Linked DNA regions of Homo sapiens: all the other regions are linked to region 1. The links are contacts of gene promoters, found by promoter capture Hi-C in blood cells and fetal thymus (Javierre and others, 2016). All regions are on one chromosome and are shown on one strand. The core of a region is centred on a gene start or on the middle of the fragment in contact, and the rest is flanking DNA. Distances in the headings are between cores, read along the strand shown. Region 1 holds the start of TCEA1 (transcription elongation factor A1). Region 2 overlaps RB1CC1 (RB1 inducible coiled-coil 1). Region 3 overlaps RB1CC1 (RB1 inducible coiled-coil 1). Region 4 overlaps RB1CC1 (RB1 inducible coiled-coil 1).

Region 1 (3,170 bases), core at 390-2,889:
TGGAAGAAAAATTATTTCAGGTACACTGATGATGAAAATGTGCCGAACGTGGTTAAACAAATTTAGGTGAGGACAATTATATAAGTTTACCTGAGAGGCCAGGCGCAGTGGCCTCACGCCTGTAATCCCAGCACTTTGGGAGGCTGAGGTGGGCGGATCACCTGAGGTCAGGAGTTCGAGACCAGCCTGGTTAAGATGGTGAAACCCCGTTTCTACTAAAAATACAAAAAAATAGCCAGGCGTGGTGGCGCACGTCTGTAATCCCAGCTACTCGGGAGGCTGAGGCAGGAGAATCACTTGAACCCGAGAGGCGGAGGTTGCAGTGAGCCGAGATCAAGCCATTGCACTCCAGCTTGTGCAACAAGAGTTAAACTCCGTCTCGAAAAAATATGTTTAGCTAAGAACAGATGAGTCTGAAGCAAGGGACTGAAAGTGCCACACAAATGGGCAAGCTGTAGAAACTGGTCGTATGAGGATTTCTTACAAACCACAAAAGCATATGCTTACATGAATATTCATCAATAACAAAAAAAATGCCACCAGTATTAACTGTAAACCACTTAGAAAATACCCAACAATATAATTTGTCCAAATCCCTCTACCAGCATTCCGGTGAGTGTGCGTGCTGTAGTCCTAACTCTTCTGTACATTACGACAGGACAAAACCCGCTTTTTATAAAACGTTTAGCAACTCGCCAAGAAACTGGCACACTTTACCTTTTTAATCGCTAAGCAAACATGTAGCACAGTTGAGATAACCAGGCGGACGTTCAGCCCTCTTCAAAAATAAGACACAGAAGTTTTACATTTTACCAGCCCGATGTCTAATACCGATCACAAGCCTCTATTTGATGCTCTTTCTAGATGTTGGCCACGGATCACGGAAGACTCCATTCTTTCAAGTTCTGAGGACTTTCTACGCTTCAATTCCTAAGCTAAATTGCCAAGGTTTTACTAGCACGAAAGTTTAAAGTCAACGGAGAGCGTGCCCTAATCCCTAAATCGATTAGGTTTATTACACGGCACCAGCGAGCAGGGACTGGAAATACAAGAGCGAGCGGGTCCTAACGCAGGTTGCCGCGGGACCCGACGCCCCGGGCCCGGACACCCTCCCCGGGGACGCGGGCGCGGCGGGCCCGGCTCCCAGACGGGAGGCTGCAGGGGGAGGGGAGGGAGAAGGAGGGAGGGGGCGGCCCCCTCGGGCCGGACCGCGGCCCGGCCTCCCTCCCGGCCCGCGCCGCTCGCCGCGCTCACCGCGTTCTTCTTCTGCACCATCTTGTCCATCTTCTTGGCAAAGCGGACCACTTCGTCCTCCATGGCTCCGGCAGGTCTTCTCCGCGCCCACCCCGCTGGCAAGGGGAAGTGGGCGAAGCTGGAGCGGAAGACACAGCAGGAGCGACCCCCGGCGCGCAGCAACCCCCACCACCGCAGGCCCGGGCCTAGGCCCCCTTCCTTACGAACGAAGCCCGCGGCGGCGGCGGCGGCGGCGGCGGCTCCGGCTCCTCCTCCCCAGGCAGCGACAATCGAACACCGCGCGCGACGTGCAGGCGCTACCAACTGACTGCAGATCGCTGGTGAGGGGCGAGCCCATGTTCCCGCCAGGCGGGCGTCGGGCTAGTGGGCAGGCGTGGCTTCCGGCTAGAGGGTCGTGGAAGGCGCCCGGTTTTGCTGCGCGTTCACCTCCGGTCCCGCCCCCTCACGGGGCGGGTTTTCGGCCCCCTATTGCATCGGGACATCCCGGAGTTTTAGAACTCGCGGAGGCCCAAGTATCTCGAAACGGGGGCAGATTCCGAGCATGGAACTTTGGCAGGTTTTAAAGTCTGTGGGAAGCCAAGCACTTTCTCCATAGGAGACTGCTACGGGGAAAAATGGAACCCGTGTCCTCTAAGTTAGGTTACGGAGTTACTCGTTTTAAGAGTTCCTTTTTTTTTGAGACGGAGCCTCGTTCTGTCGCCTGGCTGGAGTACAGTGGCGCGATCTCCACTCACTGCAAGCTCCCCCCCCCGGGTTCAAGCGATTCTCCTGCTTTAGTTTCCCGAGTAGCTGGGACTACAGGCGCCCGCCACCACGCCCTGCTAATTTTTTGTATTTTTAGTAGAGACAGGGTTTCACCATGTTGGCCAGGATGGTTTTGATCTCTTGACCTAGTGATCCGCCCGCCTCGGCCTCCCAAAGTGCTGCGATTACAGACCTGAGCCACTGCACCCGGCTAAGCGTTCCTTTTTTTAAAAAAAATCGGCCGGGCGCGGTGGCTCATGCCTGTAATCCCAGCACTTTGGGAGGCCGAGGCGGGCGGATCAACTGAGGTGAGGAGTTCGAGACCAGCCTGACCAACATGGAGAAACATCGTCACTACTAAAAATACAAAATTAGCCGGGCGTCATGGCCTGTGATCCCAGCCACTCGGGAGGCTGAGGCAGGAGAATCGTTTGAACCCGGGAGGCGGAAGTTGCGGTGAGCCGAGACTGCCATTGCATTCTAGCCTGGGCGACAAGAGCGAAACTCCGTCTCAAAAAAAATAAAAAATAAATAAAGGTGAAATCGTTCGTGAGCTCCTGGAGTACTAAGAACCAGTCTTGGGCATGGCATTTTGAATAGTTGAAGAACAGTTGACGGAAACCTTCTGGTCAGAAATTACACAAGGCATCCCACCAGCTTCTGAGGATCAGAGAGGAAGGTGACTTAAGTTGTGACAGGGTTCATAGTGGAGAATGCAGGCTCCTCCAAAAAGTCTTTCCCCACTTAAACCCTTCACGACCAACTCATGCTATTTGCAGGTATAACTCCCACACCACGTAACTATCATTCATCAAAATACACCGCCTAATAATGTTCTTTCTATACTGAGATGACAGGTTTTTCCTGGTTATGACTCACTCATTTGGGGGAGAAGTATTGGGATCGTTTCCCTATTTTGTTTCATTTTTAAATTATCTTTTTATTATTGATTTCCAGCTTAAATTGTAGTATTTGTTGAGATTTATTTTGTCAATTTTTTTTTTTTTTTGACACGGAGTTTTGCTCTTATTGACCAGGCTGGAGTGCAGTGGTGCCATCTCGGCTGGCTCACTGCAACCTCCACCTCCCAGGTTCAAGCGATTTTCCTGCCTCAGTCTCCTGAGTAGCTGGGACTACAGGCGCCCACCAGCACACCCGGCTAATTTTTTGTG
Region 2 (3,170 bases), core at 262-2,761, 1.4 Mb before region 1:
AGTATGGGAATCGCTATGTCACCAATTCTTATGTATTAAAAAATGCATACATTTAAAACACTAAGAAATCCTGCAGTATAGAAACATGTTTAACAGCTAAGCATGGCTGGGCGTGGTGGCTCACGCCTGTAACCTGAACAATTTGGGAGGCCAAGGTGGGCAGAACACTTGGGGCCAGGAGTTTGAGACCAGCTGGCCAACACGGTGAAACCCCGTCTCTACTAAAATACAAAAACTTAGCTGGATGTGGTGGCAGGCACCTCTAGTCCCAGCTACTTGGGAGGCTGAGGCACAAGAACAGCTTGAACCCAGGAGGCTGAGGTTGCAGTGAGATGAGATTGTGCCACTGCACTCCAGCCTGGACAACAGAGCAAGACTCTTGTCTCCAAAACAACAACAACACAGCTAAGAGTACATCTGATGGGGGTAAAAGCCCCCATATTGCTTTGATCATGGAAACGTTTCTTCTCATGTAATACAATTAATGACCCCAGATAACAATGGTTTAGAAACATATCAAACTAACGTTTAATTCCAGTGAAGTCTAACTGAGGCTTTATTATTCTGATTTGTCAAAATATAAAGGGGGGTGGTGTGAAAAGAAATATAGAAGGGCAAGGAGGAGGTGGAGGCTGTAAAGGAGGAGGGAGGGAGAAGAGCAGTGGAAGAAAGAAGAGGGAAGGGTGGAAAGAAAAAAAGGAAGAGACAAGAAAACAAAAAAACCAAGTGAATCTATTTCTACCAATCCTAACAGTGCAGTATAAGGTATCTTCCTGTGTTATGAAGATTCTTTATAAAAAATTATGAATACAAATATCAATCTTAAAGCTTTATGCTAACTGGCTTTTAAAGCCAAAAACACTTTTATTTTGATTTTTTTTAAACCACAACAATTTCTGCAAGTTTCTGATAAATGTCTCTACTTCTGGAAAAAAGGTTTTAAAACATATGGAATTTAGTCATGGTTAGAAAATAAATACATACACAAAAGGAAGGGGGCCAGGAGTCCAGTCCCCTAAACAGACGATTTCTTAAAAAAGACTTCCCTGTATAAAGAAATTAACAATATGGTTATTTTAGAGCTTTATTTAAGGCAAAAAATTATCTCTGGTTTTTGAAAAGGTAAATTAAAAGTTGACAGTACTTCAAGTTTAAAATTTAACAATGGATTCAATTCTATACACTTTAAAAGGAATATTTCCTAGATATCAATGGCAATTAACAGCATATACATGAAGTATGCTACAGAAAATCCAAGCTTATAAAAACTTTTATCCTTTACAAAAGTAATTAAAATTATTAATGAACACTTACTAAATAATTTCCCAAAGGATTCCCTTTTTGATTTTTCTGCTTCATATAATCTCTTTCCATCTTTGACTAAAGCACCAGCCCACTAGAAGAGGAAAGCTTATGTTAAACATAAACATACACCAATTCGTTAAAGTTCATATACAGTTAAAATAGAATTCAACTTGCATACCTCCCTGTAGTGTTTTATGAACATTTTTCTTCTTACAACCTCAACAACAGCTAAGCAGTACATCTGAGGAACTGTACTAAGAGCTTCAACAATTTTGACTCTTTCTAACAGCTCTATTACGAGGCGGAGCAAAGCTTGTAACTTCTCTCCATCTTGATCAGCATGAAGCATTACAAAGCAACACCACCTAGAGAATAAAATCCATTATTTTCAACATTCACAAAACTGGTACTAACTTAGTTACTTACTTAGTAAGCTTACTAACTTAGTTAAGCCAAAGAAATCAAGATATATAAGCTCTACAAAAATAGTCTAATTCCAAAGTTCATCAATAAGGTATTTCAATAAAATGGTAGGGAAAAATCACTCCATCATTTGGGAGAAATAAATATAAATACCAATTCTAAACATCTTAAAACAGATATAAATGAATCACTTACTTCAGTCTGACATGTAGGTTATTTGCTAGTTCTTGTTTGGCAGTGGTACACTTCTGCTTAATATCTAACAGTTTTCTATGATTTTGCAACATAATCATCAACTGATTTGCGTGACTCAGGCATAAATCAGGTAATACAGATGCATCCTTTAAGTTTTCAGCTCTCTTCTGATTAGCTAAAAATCCCTTTGAGAAAAAAAATGTTTCAAAGGACATTAATTTTGTTTCATGAAAGGTATGGACATTCAGTTAAGTGGAAAATCTTTATGTTAAACACAACCCGTTTTGTGCCTTCTAACAATATTTTTAAATCCTCTATTTTTCTCGAATGTAGTAGATGCATAAATGGCACAAGACCTAGAATTTTTAAGAATCCTATGCTCATCTTTAATTTTTCAAACTAGAAGAAAATAAAGGCTAGAAAGATAAAGCCCCTTAGCCAAGGACATACTTAATAGTCAATGAGAATTAGAAGCTATGTGTCTAGAATCCTATAACACTATCGGTCAGTCACAGCACAAACAAAACAAGGTCACTGAAAAACAATAAGGGATTTAATCTAGCAAACATTATACAGTAGTATATTAGACACTTTCCCAAATATAAAAATAATAAAATGCCCTTAAAATATTTATCGAAAAGTCACTGCCCTCTCCAGTTATCTCTGGACTATATTTTGTTCCACTGATCTGTGCTCCCATTGCTAGGACAATGACTGAATTGTGTGATTTTACACAGAGTTTATACTTTATTATTTGGTAGAAAAACATTTTTTCTGTTTTTCTTAACTGTCCTTACTCATTTGTTTTTGTAGGTGAACGGTGTATCTGTCAAGTAGGGATTAAGTTACTAATTAATTTAGATAGATCTGCCATAATCTTCCTTCATTTATCTCTCAAGTATATTTAGTTTTCTTTATATGTGGTCCAAAGATAACTTAATAAGGTTATTACTACATACTTTATTGCTACCACAAAGTTTTTTCCTATGCTATATACCAAGTGGCTTATATGTAATAATGTTGTAGGTTTTGTACATCCATCTGATTGCTGTATTGATACTGTAAATAAATCATTATCCTTCTAGGAACTTAACTTTATGACCAGCTAAAGGACAAGTGTGTCTTCCAATTTTCTGGTAGTTCTCTGTTTCATGTTTTCCTAAATATCATGACATTTAGATTTGAATGATATATACTGAAGTCAAACTGGTTCAATATCTGAAAGGAAGACAATTTTCATAGTAACT
Region 3 (3,170 bases), core at 370-2,869, 1.3 Mb before region 1:
AAATAGACATCTGACATTCAGTTCCAAACAATGAAGTACAAAAATATTTATTAAGGATAAATTACAAGGCAGCAATGTAGATTGCTTTATATATGGAGATATATAAAGAAGTCCACTGTTATAAAATATTTTAGTTGGCAAGGAAATAAGACAGATCATTCTACCTTTGTTAACTGGTATGAGACAGATATAAAAGTCACAAAAGAGACAGGAAATGAGAAGTCAAAGTTAACTGAAGGCATTTAACTTAAGTATAAAGGTATGAAAAGAATATGAACAAAGATAGGGAAAGAAGTACTTCAAAAGAGTGGAACACGAAGTGGCAAAGACAGGAAATATGAAGCACTATTGGTTAAGAACAAATGGTCTGGAGGAAAAAGCGAGAGAAAGAGGGCCAGATGATCAAAGACCCAGAAGATACTAAGGTAAGGAAGGAGGAATTGGACTTTACTCAGAAAAGACCTCCTCAAGAACTCTTTAACATGAAGAATGTAATCAAATAGAAGCTTTAAGAAGACTGATAATACAGAAAATGTCATAAGGTGGAACGGGAAGGCACCTGAAAGAATGGATGTAAAATGATTATTTTTAAGTTGTCCAGGCAAACTGTAAAAAAGCTACTGTAAGTTATCTAGTTACCAAAGTAAATAAGTAAGATGGTCTTTATGGGGTAGGAATGTCAGTAAAATGATTATGTGCCATGTCAATTAATGTCAATTAATCAATCATGCTGCCACTAAAATAGAGTGGGGAAAAAAACTCTGGAATTATGAAATAACAAATAAAATGTTTTCAGATTTTTTTAAACAGATGAAAGAGAGGTGACACCCTTGAAATGACGAGTAAAAGAGCTGTTGGGTACATTAAAGCAAGAAGTTCTTGCAGCGCATGTAGAAAATGTAGGAGGAAGATTCTTAAACACACAAAAGATGGAGGATATAAAATATTCAAATGTTTCAATTTTATGAATTGTTAAAATTTATAAATGTAAAATAAGTTCAACTGTAGCACTGTTTACTAGGAAAATAAATTTATGATATTTCAAAAATGGGAGTACCTTGCAACAATGAAAAAGGAATAATATATATAGTATGGGCCGGGTGCAGTGGCTCTCACCTGTAATCCTAGTACTTTGGGAGGCTGAGGCGGGCGATCACCTGCGGTCAGGAGTTTGAGGTCAGCCTGGCCAAGATGGTGAAACCCATCTCTACCAAAAATACAAAAATTAGCTGGGTGTGGTGGCACGTACCTGTAATCCCAGCTACTGGGGAAGCTGAGGGAGGAGAATCACTTGAACCCAGGAGGCAGAGGTTACAGTGAGCCAAGATCGCACAACTGAATTCCAGCCTGGGTGGCAAGAGCGAAAACTCCAACTCAAAAACAACAACAAAAAAAGTATAGTATGCTTTCATTTATTTGGGGAGGCTAAGGTCAGTTAGAAATGTGAAACAACAGAGGTATGAGAGAGAAATGCATTTTGTGTGTATATCAAAGTCTAGGAAAATGCAAAACAAATGTTCCACCATCATTAAGATGGAGTGGGGGATGCAACGAAAGAGGAAGTATTTTCTCTATATATTTTGCTGATATATTTGCTGATATATTTGGCTGATAAGGATGCCAAAATTATGACCATTCTGTTTTAGAAGATAATATTGTTAATGAACAAATTTAGGTGAAAAGAAATATCTTTACAGGTAAAATATGAAAGTTTACTTTCTGGAAGTACAATGATATGAATGTAAAGAGCACTGGCCTTGGAGAAAAGAGGTTCTTCTTCTCCCTGGCTATCTGGCCTTGAAGAAATGACTTATCTTCACCTGTTCTTAATTCCATATGTGTATAAGAAAGGGCTAATAGTTTCAGTTGTAAGATAATGAAGTAAAGATGTCTTTGCCTGCTTCTCCTTCATGAAACCAACCAAATACAAAAGGGAAACAAGACACCATCTTGATGAAACCAGGAAACAACTACCACCCCACACATACAATATATGCAGCAAACCTGTGAAGAATATGAAAACTGATCAACTTGGGTCAAATAAAAAGGGCACCCACTGTGAAAGAATAACAAATCTCGGGAACCCAAAATCACTAAGCCAATGGAAAAATCAAGCTGGGAACTATGTCAGGCAAACCTGCCTCCAATTTTATTCCTAAATAAGATAGCTACAAAGATAAGAAAGCTACATACCTCCCTCACAATTTTGCCACAGGGAAATTTCTTGTAGGCTTCAAGATCTTTAACCTAAAACAGTTCTGCTGAATTTCACCTTCACAATGTAAACTGACAGCATATCTTCATATGTGCGGGACAGAAAGTCACACCTCTGCTGACCTGAAACAAAGGCCTATCTGCTTCCTCTGTCTTACTGTTTATTGTTTATGTAAAAATGCAGATGCACTGAGCCAGACTAAATTATGTATTGAGTGAAAGGCTGATCAAGGACTCGAAAGACCCCGCTTCGAGTTATCCTGCCCTTCTGAACCAAACCAATGTACTTCTTACACATAATCATGTCTCATGTCTCCCTAAAATGTATAAAAGCAAACTGTACCCTGACCACCTTGGGCACATGTTACCAGGACCCCCTGAAGCTATGTCTTGGGTGTGTCCTTAACCTTGACAAAATAAATTTTCTAAATTGATTGTGACCTGTCTCACGATAATTTAGGTTCACACCACTATTGCAGACATTTAGCAAAACTTGGGAGAACTGAATCCTCCTTGTGGGAAGCTTGGGTGGACAGCAAGAACCTCTTGGGGCCCTATCTGAAATTAGAGAGTAGCAGAAGAAATAATACCTATTTATGTTACATACTTGCAAAAAGCCAAAGGAAAAAACGTGAGAAAAAGCCCTAGAACTGCTAAATTTTGTCCAAGGAGAAGGACAAAATAAGTCATCTCCATCCCTCTCTTACACATATAGATTCTGCTTCTAACTGGGGATCCCCTGTGATCCAGGGCAGCTTCCTGCTCACCAGGAAGTGCTATCTTATACCCTTTCCTACACTGTCTTATAGAGGAATAATTCTATTCATTCAAACACAAGCAAAAATTTTAACATGAAATCTACACTAAATTACCCTAATTTAGTGTAGAAAAAAAGAATTAAAAGTAAAAAAAACTAAATGCAGAAAAACTTTCTCCAAGAGCAAATGGAAATTATA
Region 4 (3,170 bases), core at 477-2,976, 1.3 Mb before region 1:
CCCCAATGACAATCTCTGACCTTCAAAACTGGACACATTCATTATTCATCCACTATTTTGGGGGCATCTAAACATAAGCCAGACACTGCTAGGTGCCTGGAATACAAATATCTTCAAGATGCTTTCCAGCTGAATAGAACACATGAGACTCAGATAACCCTAAAGTGGACTAAAAGCTTCAGAGAAAAGATGATTGGAAATAATTTTGCCTGATCTCTAATTCTGTAAACTGCAATTATTAGCAATTCTCCCTCATTGAGGGGTCACGGGCTACTGCATCAATGGAGATAATGTCCACCACAAACGGAGTGTCTAGGTTGCCCAGGGACTGAAAACTGGGCATCAGTCTCCCCAAATCAGATGTATTCTAATCTGATCCTACCCCTTCTCTGCCAAGAAAAAGAATGAAAGATGAGTAGGTCAGGCATTTTCCTCACATTTCCCTGAAAGAAAACCTTTTTCATAAAAGTTCAGACTTCCTAAATATACGCCTTGTCTACAAACTAGACAAGCAACTTCGCCAAAAGAATGAAGCGAGCATTTAGAAAGGTAGTGCCCAAAGACAGCAAATGAGGTAAAAATAGCAGAACAGGAATACTTTTAAAACAAAAATGAAAAATACTTTGGAGTACACCCTTCAGGTTTTTTTCCCTAGGTGTACAGGAAATATGTGTATATTCAGGCAATATGGTTTTATAAAAATGAGGTGACACCCTACATACTACTATGGACTTTGCTTGAACTGCATAAAATAACAGAAATCTTTCTGTATCAGTACATATAAATGCATTACACATTTTGGTGTCCCTATCGTTTATAAAAACTACATAAAATGCATGATTTTAGTGAAAATTTTCTAGTTGTGTTTTATTTTATAACGGAAACTAACAGTAAAACCAAAATTATCTATATAGCAAATATAGAATTATATAAGACAGGGAAAATGGGGAAAAAAAAGAAAATGTAGAATTAGCTGCATTCTATTAAACCAAGATTATCTATAAACATATAACCAAATTATTAAACCAGCCTGCCCAAATCTGGTATTTGCAGTAAAACAATTACTAAAAGCCGTTATATTACTGTAATATAATATGGTATTGAATTAATATTTCAACAGGTATGCTGGACAGTTACTGAACAAGTATAATGTGTGGAATGTGAAGGAAAAATGAGTGGACAGTCTCAAATCAGTGACAAAAAAAGGAAATGGAACACAATTATTTTTATCTCCTAGCACAATTACAAGCCAATAAAATATGAGAGTTCAAAAGAGCAAACTAACGGGTAGAAAAAAATCATGGATGAAAAAAAATGGGCGAGGATTGTTATTCCACAATCCTCAAAGCACTCACTAAACAGCCATGAAAGCAGAAACAAATTAGCCAAGGAAAGAGGGTACTTGGAGGCATTCAAGTACTGCACTTACAAAAAGTAATCCAACAGAACCGGAACTTTACAAAGGGATAGAAAGAAATGCCATCCTCTCAGGACCCTAAACAATGGGGGTACAGTTTACAGTCAAATTAAGTTGATTTGGTCCATAATAAATAATCAGAGACAAGTAATCTTCACATCCTTTTATCTATGTGAGTTAAGCAAAAACTCATCAACCTAGCACTATACAATCGGCTTAGCTAGCCTTTTATCTACTCTACATCCTCAAAGTAATCTGCGTTTGTCATTTACCTCCATGAAAATTTCCAGTGGTTACCCATTTCCTATAAATAAATATATATACATAGACAGATATGTCTTTCTTGTTCACTGTTGCATTGCTGAAGCTAAAAGAGTATGCTGCAGGGGTTCAATTAGCATTTCAGGAATAAATGAAGTGAATTTGGCTTCAACTGCTTTCCAGCCATGCTGGGTTTACTTGAATTCATCTGTAGACCTTTGTGAGTTAGAGCACATTAGTTTCCTTACTATGACTTCCAAACCTGAATATGTAGAGCCCCACAATCTACCATTACTATCGCCTCTCTCATACCAGTCCAGCTTCAGTAACTTCATTTTTCTTGGTATATGCCATGTATATCAGAGCCTTTCCATTTACTGTTTCTTCTGCCAAAAATTCCTTTCGAGAGTCACACACTTACACCCCTTACTTCTCTTGGGCCTTTATTCAAAAGGCAATCAGTGGCCGGGCTTTGGGAGTCCGAGGCAGGCAGATCACCTGAGGTCAGGAGTTCAAGACCAGCCTGGCCAACATGGTAAAACCCCGTCTCTACTCAAGAACAATTACTTAAACATTTTTATGTTCCTCATGTAACTAGTTCAAAAACCTCACAGTGGTAAAAAGATAATAAAAGAATCGTGAAAGTGTGTTGAAAGGGACTGCTAGATTTTCAAAGTGTCTTAGGCCAGTATTACTACAAAAGAAAAGTGTAACTGGAGTCAGAAAATATCATTACCTGAATGAGAAAATTTTATCAGCCATTCTTTTAAAAAGATATTCATAAGACATACACATCTGCAAAGTAAAGCATGTAGGTGCTCAAATATCTGCTGAATGTATGATATAAAATTTTAAGTTAATATTAGAGTCTAAAAACTTTTCTCAGGCTAACATAATCAAAATTTAGGTTCAAAATTTCGAAAACAAAAGTCTTGTGTCTTCTGCCTTTATGAACTTGATTTGCTAAAGTAAATCTGCCATGCATCCTGATCTTGTGTTTGGCAGCAAGAGCCAAAAAAAAAAAAAAAAAAAACTCAGGGACAAAAGTACCGCTTCATTGTCTTCCCTGTCGTCCAATAACAAACATATAAAGGATTAGGTACATAAATAATCATATCTTGATTACCATAAAAAGTTCAAAATAGACTAAATAAAATTACTTTAAAAATATGAACTATGTCAATATCCACTTTCCATCAACAGAGGTTTCTCAACGTAAGCATTATGTGCCTAAAGCATCCCTGACATAAAACTTTATCCAGGTTTTGAACACAATCACAAACATTAAAAGACATGACAGGAATGTTATTGAGAAAATATCTTCATTAGGGCCATATTCTGTTACAACAAATATAAAAAGCGAACATATTTTCACATTCCTAGCAATGGTCTGCTTATAAATCCAATAATCCAAAAACTAAAATCAGCCACCTCCCTCAGTAGTTCCTTGGTTTCTCACAGTTTTATCTGATCAGAAGTGGAAGGACCCTCT

The links. The method cuts DNA at HindIII sites, captures the fragments that hold promoters and counts their contacts. A CHiCAGO score of 5 or more calls a contact.
Region 2: a contact is called between a fragment that was not itself captured here and the fragment with the promoter of TCEA1 in region 1, in 4 of 17 cell types (activated CD4 T cells, non-activated CD4 T cells, fetal thymus and 1 more). The highest score is 7.7, in activated CD4 T cells.
Region 3: a contact is called between a fragment that was not itself captured here and the fragment with the promoter of TCEA1 in region 1, in 1 of 17 cell types (naive CD8 T cells). The highest score is 5.8, in naive CD8 T cells.
Region 4: a contact is called between a fragment that was not itself captured here and the fragment with the promoter of TCEA1 in region 1, in 2 of 17 cell types (activated CD4 T cells and naive CD8 T cells). The highest score is 5.9, in activated CD4 T cells.

Annotation. Positions count from the first base shown.
Region 1 is chr8:54,020,809-54,023,978 of GRCh38, forward strand. It overlaps TCEA1 (transcription elongation factor A1), which reads right to left and starts at 1,640. Exons shown (of 10, transcript NM_006756.4): 1 at 1,255-1,640. The coding sequence starts at 1,317. All of the region lies in intron 12 of LYPLA1-TCEA1 (LYPLA1-TCEA1 readthrough), which reads right to left. LOC133039971 (Uncharacterized LOC133039971) reads left to right here and starts at 1,225. Exons shown (of 3, transcript NR_189620.1): 1 at 1,225-1,574. RefSeq lists silencers at 1,089-1,258, 2,386-2,693 and enhancers at 1,379-2,172, 1,429-1,578, 2,173-2,964. The HindIII fragment of the contact is 35,827 bases long and covers 1-3,170 here.
Region 2 is chr8:52,659,612-52,662,781 of GRCh38, forward strand. RB1CC1 (RB1 inducible coiled-coil 1) reads right to left here. Exons shown (of 24, transcript NM_014781.5): 9 at 1,924-2,108; 10 at 1,484-1,670; 11 at 1,315-1,396; 12 at 985-1,046. Among named protein-coding and RNA genes, the nearest start is that of RB1CC1, 53 kb to the right of the region's middle. The HindIII fragment of the contact is 207 bases long and covers 1,409-1,615 here.
Region 3 is chr8:52,677,043-52,680,212 of GRCh38, forward strand. All of the region lies in intron 5 of RB1CC1 (RB1 inducible coiled-coil 1), which reads right to left. Among named protein-coding and RNA genes, the nearest start is that of RB1CC1, 36 kb to the right of the region's middle. The HindIII fragment of the contact is 2,231 bases long and covers 505-2,735 here.
Region 4 is chr8:52,709,806-52,712,975 of GRCh38, forward strand. The region is part of intron 1 of RB1CC1 (RB1 inducible coiled-coil 1); the gene reads right to left. Among named protein-coding and RNA genes, the nearest start is that of RB1CC1, 3.0 kb to the right of the region's middle. The HindIII fragment of the contact is 3,105 bases long and covers 175-3,170 here.